Regions from separate parts of the Homo sapiens genome. Here region 1 is linked to region 2. Evidence: promoter capture Hi-C in 16 types of primary human blood cells and fetal thymus (Javierre and others, 2016). All regions are on one chromosome and are shown on one strand. Each heading gives the region's core, a stretch centred on a gene start or on the middle of the fragment in contact. The rest is flanking DNA. Distances are from core to core; before and after follow the strand shown. Region 1 holds the start of TSPAN5 (tetraspanin 5). Region 2 holds the start of DNAJB14 (DnaJ heat shock protein family (Hsp40) member B14).

The links. Contacts are between HindIII fragments. The CHiCAGO score rates a contact against its expected background, and 5 or more counts as called.
Region 1: a contact is called between the fragment with the promoter of TSPAN5 here and the fragment with the promoter of DNAJB14 in region 2, in 2 of 17 cell types (non-activated CD4 T cells and activated CD4 T cells). The highest score is 7.1, in non-activated CD4 T cells.

Annotation. Positions count from the first base shown.
Region 1 is chr4:98,656,572-98,660,340 of GRCh38, forward strand. It overlaps TSPAN5 (tetraspanin 5), which reads right to left and starts at 2,040. Exons shown (of 8, transcript NM_005723.4): 1 at 1,575-2,040. The coding sequence starts at 1,655. TSPAN5-DT (TSPAN5 divergent transcript) reads left to right here and starts at 2,331. Exons shown (of 3, transcript NR_148380.1): 1 at 2,331-2,451. LOC112267901 (a long non-coding RNA gene) reads left to right here and starts at 2,152. Exons shown (of 3, transcript XR_939016.3): 1 at 2,152-2,301. RefSeq lists silencers at 1,605-1,764, 2,018-2,197. The HindIII fragment of the contact is 4,978 bases long and covers 1-2,680 here.
Region 2 is chr4:99,944,381-99,947,982 of GRCh38, forward strand. It overlaps DNAJB14 (DnaJ heat shock protein family (Hsp40) member B14), which reads right to left and starts at 2,238. Exons shown (of 8, transcript NM_001031723.4): 1 at 2,059-2,238. The coding sequence starts at 2,191. RefSeq lists an enhancer at 1,622-1,671 and a silencer at 1,842-2,501. The HindIII fragment of the contact is 11,087 bases long and covers 1-3,602 here.

The sequences.
Region 1 (3,769 bases), core at 790-3,289, 1.3 Mb before region 2:
TACTTGTAGCAGTGTTTAATTGCAGGGAGGTGGGTGACTGCTCCCGGGAATCATGCACAACACTGGCAAAAAACTGCCTGTGGAATGATCGGATATGACATCCATTCATGTGTCCCCTCATTATCTTTATTAGTCCTGAAGACAGATGACATGCTGACACGGAAAGTGGTCTCCAATCCCTTGCATTTCCCCTCACAAAACATACATGACCAATGCAAGGTATTATAATAGAAAACAGAAAATAAAATAACCTGGTAAGAGTGCGGTACAAAAAAAGAATATGAAGAGCCGTATTGACAACTATTCTCACAGATGTATATACGTACAGCAAACAGCCCAAATTAAAGGAGAATTCAAATAAATACATTCCGTGTTCAGACTGCTGTGGATAATTATTGATCCTGCAGTTGGAGCATTGTTTACCTCACACTGAACAGCAACTTAGAGAACCCCCTACCCAGACAGCCACCATCTTTACTTTCTATGGAAATGCGGGTGCCCACTGAGGAAGAGGATGAGATGGGATGAGAAGGGGAAGAAAAATAACATGGTCTTTGAACCAACGTTTTCCCCTTGTCCTGGAGAACTCTTTGTCTGGCTGCTGAACACGTTTGCCAGATCAAGGAAAAGAATCAAAACAAACAAACAAACAAAAAGAGTAGGCGTCCCAGCCTAATTACAATAGGTTCCCAACACATTGCAGTCCCAAGCAGAGCATCATTTGAATCTTGTGTTAAAGCATTTGCTCTCTCGGTTCCCCAATAAAACATGCCTCGCACACCTTCTCCTTTGCATTTCTACAAAGGTTCCCCCAAACGGCCCGCTCTGTGTCACTCCTTTAAAAATGAGGACGTGGGGCAGGAACACACTGAAATATATGTTGACGGTGACTTATTATCCTGACGATGATATATACATACAAATAAATCCCTCTACCCCGCACCCCCACTGACCAGTCCATTACGCACAGGGAGCGCTTTCCAGCTGAAGAGGAGAGCGTGCAGGAAACGTTATTTACGTGCAATTACAGGACCATATACCACGGCATCTGCATCCTACACAAAGCCCGAGATGGTGCAAGAAGATACACGCTGAGCATGGCACAGACCAGCCGCGGCAACACGGAGCCAAGCCCTCGTCCAATCAGATCGTTGTTAGAAGGTGGACCTCAGGGTCGGCCGTGCCCGATTAGCCTTCCCTATTATGACACCACGCTCTGCCCAACATCTATATCCCACCGAGAGCAAATCCAATTCGTGTGGTTGCTCATTTCTCAAACTGCCGAACCCTTTCTTTTATCTGCATCCCTGCTATTCGTTCCTCAAAAAGCCACCAGAAGGCCTCGGTGCCCCCTTTCCGCCTCGATTTCTCTTTTCACCTCTTCCCATTCCTCGAAAGGATTAAATGTTTATCTCTCCAACGCGCAAGCTGGAAAGGCGGAAGGCGAATGCCTCTATGCTGCTCCGGCAAGCGCCTGCGGGGCTGCGAAAAGTAAAGGCAACGAACAACGTGGGGGAAATCGTCGCGAATCGATCGGCCACAATAGTTGGAATCCCAGGAGCGCTCCAACTTACCCAAAATATGACATTGAAGCCAAATATGAAGTATTTGATGCAACAACTGACTTCAGGACCCTTGTAGTGCTTCCCGGACATCCTCTGGGTTCATGAAGACACTTGCCCCGGCAGCCCGAGTTTGGAGCTCCGAAGCACCGTTGCTCGGAGCAGCCCGGCGGGGAGCAGGAGCTCAGGGACACCGCACGGGGCCGCGGCGCTGGCGGCCTGGGCTCAGCCGCGCGGGGACCGACCGGCGGAGAGCGGCTCCCGCACCTCCAGCCCCTCGCGCGCCGAGGCCGCCGGAGCCGGGGTGGCCGCGAGAAAGCAGGGAAGCCGCGCGCTGCAAGCTCAAGCCTCGCCGACGCTAGCCCCGAACACAAAGCGAGCGCCCGCGTCCGTGCGCCAGGCGGTCGGTCCGTCGGTTCGTCCCCGGGCTTCGGGCAAAGGCGGCCGCGGCAGATGCTGGTGGAGACGCCGCTCGCTTGCTCGCCCGCCCGTTCGCGCGCGCCCTCCCACCCCTCGCTCCGCCCGCCTCTCGCTCCGCCCGCCCGGCCGGCTGCTCCTCCGCCCGCGCCGCCCGCAGCTCCGCCCGCCGCCCAAGCCTTGGCTAGGCGCGCGCGCGCACGGGGTCGGGCGCTCCCGGGCGGCGGTGGCACCACGTAGCCGCCTCCTTCCACCGCTCGCTTTATCCCCGCCCCTTCTCGGGCCAACCCCAAGCGCCGCTGACCCCGAACGTCGCTGCGGGGTAGGTAGGGGGTGGGAGGGTGGAGGACCGCAGGCGAGAGGGAGAAGGAAGGGCGCCCGGGGAGCAGGCTGGCAGAGTGACCGGGATTGATGAGCGGCGCAGCTCTGGAGGGACGCGGGCGAGAGGGTCGCTCCTCGGGGAGAGGGCTGGGTGAGTGAGGACCTGCGAGCCACCCCCGACACCCCTTCCAGGGTAGCCACACTGGCGCCCCCTCCTCCACAACAGGCTTATGTGGCTAGAGAAGATGCGATGCCACTGGACAGGGAAGGAAAGTCGTCGTGGACTTCGCTGAATGGAAAAGGGGGTAGTTGGGGAAGGTGGAGAAAAGAGCCACGGGAAGTGGGAGGAAAGGATGAAGGGATGGGACGTTGAAAAGGAAAGCTTCCTGAATCCCTGTGTGACTCTAACCCAACCTCCCCACCTACCGGAGAAATGGGTTTTATCCTAGAAATGGGGACGAGGAAAAAGAGATGGCTCAAGGGAGTCCTGGCCCGGGATGCGATCCTCGCCCTAGGGTCTATTGCAACCACACAAACCCGGACAGCGCACGCTCCCCCCTACCCCGACAGAATAGTGCCTAAGAAACCTGCTTGCCTCCTAACTCTAGGAAGGAATCCACAACGGATTCCAGGGAGGTCTTCTGGGGAATCTGAATTGGGTTTTTGGATCACGAACCATTAAGCTTTTGAACTCTGGGGAAGAATAGAACAGGTGGCTGGAAATTGTTTTAGAACCCTACCTGAGCAGGTGTGCTCATTAGTTGCTTATCCGCCCTCCTCCTGGAGCACTTTCATAGGTGTTGGCAAAGCAGGTACCAGTATTTCACGGAAGGAGAAGGAAGAACCGCCCAGGACTGTGTATAAATGTCTATGGGAATATTTTTAAGGATTCAAAAGGCTAGAAGGAGGTGAGATCAAAAAATTTTTCCAGCACCACCCAGTGCAACCCGATCCTGGACACAGAAATCTAAAAGATGATACTTAAATACTTGAGTTTGAGAGCCTCTAGTTATAAGGTTTCCTACGTAACAACCTCTCACTTTTCTCAAAAACTGGCTAGTTGACAACCGGCAGTCAAGTTTTGGCTAGTCAAGAAGCTACTTTTTCCTGCAATAAACCACATTTAGAGATAGTACTGGGCTTCAGCAGGATTGAGGCTATATTGAGGTCGCAAGTATGAACGAGGTACCCACAGAGATGGGAGGGCCAGGAGATCCTACTCATTCAGTACCTCAGAAGCTATGACACGGGATAACAGTAGCTTCAGCCCTTTGGATGAAATAATCCTCACTCCCTCAAAAGTGCTCTCTACCCACTCAAAACACAGGCCATACTACCACCAATCTGGTAGACTTCAAAAGTAAGGTCTTTCAGCAGCAGATTTCCTTGTTAACAGGAAGGTACTGACAAGCTTTACCTAAGCCTATTGGAGCTATGTTGTAATTCTGTATATAAATAGAACAGTCGCT
Region 2 (3,602 bases), core at 988-3,487:
TCCCACTTCTTGGTATCCAAAATAATTGAAAGCAGGCTCTTTGCATATCCTTGTTCATAGCAGCATTATTCATAATAGCCAAGAGGTGAAAGGAACCCAAATGTCCATAGACAGATGAATGGATTAACAAAATGTGGTGTATATATACAATGGAATATTATTCAGTTTTTTTACTGTAGCTTTTTTTTGGTCTTTTTTTTTTTGTTTTTTTGAGATGGAGTCTCGCTGTGTCGCCCAGGCTGGAGTGCAGTGTTGCCATCTCGACTCACTGTAACCTCCATCTCCCGAGTTCAAGCGATTCTCCTGCCTCAGCATCCCCTAGTAGCTGGGATTACAGGCATGCACCACCACGCCTGGCTAATTTTTTTGTATTTTTAGTAGAGATGGCGTTTCATCATGTTGGCCAGGCTGGTCTCGAACTCCTCACCTCAAATGATCCGCCCGCCTCGGCCTCCCAAAGTGCTGGGATAACAGGCGTGAGCCACCGCGCCCAGCCTAATCAGTATTTTTTTAAAGAGGAATTCTTCACGTTACAACATAAATGAAACTTGGGAACATTATGCTAAGTGAAGTAAGACAGTCACAAAAAGATACTGCATGAATCTACCTATCTGAGGTAACTAAAGTAGTTAAATTCACAGAAACACAAAGTAGAATGGTAGTTGCCAGGGTCTTAGGAGACGGGGCGGTAGGGAGCTGTCTGATTAGTACACAGTTGTGTTGTAAGATGAAAAAGTTCTGAAGAGTCCTTGCACAACAATGTCAATATACTTCACTAATGGACTGCACACTTAAAAATAGTTAAGACCGTAAATTTGGCAGGTTTTTAAACCACAACTTAAAAAATTATTAACTCTTTTCTTTCATTTTATTTTCCTGTCCTCATGGGTATAGTGTTAGAAGGCAATGTAATGGAAAGGATAGAGAGAAAAGCAAAGAGCACAGGGCTTCAACGACGTAGAGAAAAAAATTTAAGAGACAACAAAACAAGTGGCCCCATATTTTCATTAATAATTTTCTACAATTAATTGAATCTATCGATAACTTTCTTCTTAACCTGGAAATACTAATGGCAAGGCAACAGTGTAGCGGTTAAAGGCCTTTTCGAGTCTGAAAGTTCAGCTACTATTCTGACTTTGCTACTAATTGTTGTGTGACCTTGGGTAAGATACTTTCATTCATTCGCTAATTCATTCATTAATTATCAGAAAGTCTGTTTCCACGTGGGTAAACCTGGTCAAATGAATCCTGCACCTCTACACAGAATTGTTCTGAGGAATAAATGAAATAATCCATGCAAAATGTTGGGCACAACTATTGGCACTTTGTGCTCAATAAATGTTGGCTATTATTACTCCGAAGCCTATCGAGTAGGAAAATAAATAAGCTGACTTCAACTAAAGGAAACCCAGTACCATATTCCTCAGAGATTTGGTTCGTCGATAATCATGGTGTTATCAAATCAGATACTCTTCAGCAATCATTACTGACTCTTGACCATTCTTGCCGAAAGTGTGCTCTTCTCTTTTAAAGGAACTCTCTCCCAGGGAAAAGCAATGTCATCTCAGGTATTCGATGTTTGCTTTGGGAACAGTTTTCTACAGATCTCAGAAACATGGAATCTGAGATTAGCCACTAGAGTACACCATTCCTCTCACTTCGATAGGGGCCTAGGCCTTATGTAGGACTGAGAATGGGGAGGGAGGGGGCCACATAAACAACACAGATACAAATAAAGCCTCACTGTGGTAAGACGGGACCAGACAAGTCTCCTCCAGGGAGAATGAAACCCGGACATTTAGGACAGCGGAACGCGGAGCCGGCGGGCAGGCGGGTGCAGAGGAACCTCGCGCAGCATTCCCCGAGCCCCAGCCCGGAGCCGGGGCTGGGGCCAGGGCGGGGGTGTGTCGGGATGCTCCCCACCGGGCCTGGGGCTGGGGCTGGCTCAGACAGGCCGGGGGCCCCGCAGGCCTCCAGGAGGGGCCGAGGTGGGGGCAGGGGCGGGCTACGCGGTGGTCTGGGGATTGGGCAGGAAGAGAAGGGACGCTGAGGTCTCACCGCGGGCCGAGGGCAGTGGGTAGAGCTTCTCGGCCTTCTGCAGGAAGCGCTGGGCCTTCTCGCGGTTGCCGGCGTTCAGGGCCTCCCGGGCGATCTCGACACATTTCTCAGCCTCATCCCTGTTCCCCTCCATAGCTTGCTCCTTCTTCCGTTTCCTCCGGCAGCGCAGCTAAGAAGGGCGGAAGCCGCCGCCGCGGAGGAGGCGAGGCGGGACCGGCTGGGGGCGTGCGGCGGCAGCGGGGAGGAGCGCAGGGGACCGCGGCAGCGGCTGCGACGGCCCGGGCGGACGGGCGGGCCTCGCAGCTCCGCCTCCTCACGGCGGCCTCCCCGCCCCCCGCGGGCCCCTAGGGCGCGATCCGCATCCGTCCCGGCCCAGGACCAACCTCCTGGGCCGGGGCGTCCGAGCTGACTCGGTGGTCCGCGCACGGCGCCAGCAGGCTCGAAGCGGACCTGCCCGGGAGGCGGACGATAGCAGCCGGGCTGCCCATCGCGGGGAGGGGTTCCGCCCGGGACCCGATTGCCGGCATTGGTAGCGCCGTGCCCTGTGACCTCCAGGCGAGGCCCTCGCAGCTCAGGCCAGGAGGACAGGGTCCGGGAAGGGGACACTCGTTTTCAGTAAAATTGCCAGGACTTGGAGGTTCCGCCTCTGGGCCCCTCAAGCGAGGGAGGATGCGGTCAGGTGAGGACCAAGGTGTCAGTCCAGTCTCAGCACTTCCGGGACACGTTAGAGCGTCGTTTGAACCTAATCTTAGGGCTTGTATGGCAGCCTTATTTCAGCTACATTTTTTCTGACCCGGATGTCTGGCTATCCAAAGTACAAAGCAGTTTAATTTGTAGCTTGCAACGAGTGGTGCAGATCGACCTTAATCCTGTGTAGCCAAAACAAGGCAGGAATCAGCCCCTCAGGGGCTGCCCTAACGAAAGCAAACTTTTGATTTCACCTTTTCCGTCCCATTTGGATAACATTACCACTTGGAAGTACCGTGTCTTGTTAGTCTTCGCGGTGGGGGTGGGGGGAATGTTTGCTATGTGCAAATTTTTTAAAAAAAAACATGACAAACTGTCAAAATGACCTGCTCAACCCAACCACAAGGTAACAATTTTTACATAATGCTGTGAGCCAAGCTGTTAATTCTGCTAACTACCATAACTCGGTACTTTCAAATAAGAAACCCTGCTTCTCTTCGATAAAATGGAGATAGTATATCCCCAATGATGTTACTGAGTACTTAACAACTTCAGACTTCAAAGCAGGGCCTGGCACGTAGCACTATTATCTTTAAAGTTTAAATTCGGAGTTCATTCTGTGGATATACAGGACATTCCTACCTATTCTCTCCCTCCCCAAGTCCACCATGCTAACAGCATACTAGTGCAGTGCTGTCACACAGCAAGCGAAGCCAATGTACAAACTGAAATGGTCACACTTAGCCTAAGAAACTGACAATCCCACTCCAGCTCCTGCCAACTTTTTAAATTAAAACTTTAGTAGCTCATATAACATTAAAAAAATATACTTGGGCTATCTCACTTTGTTGATCTAC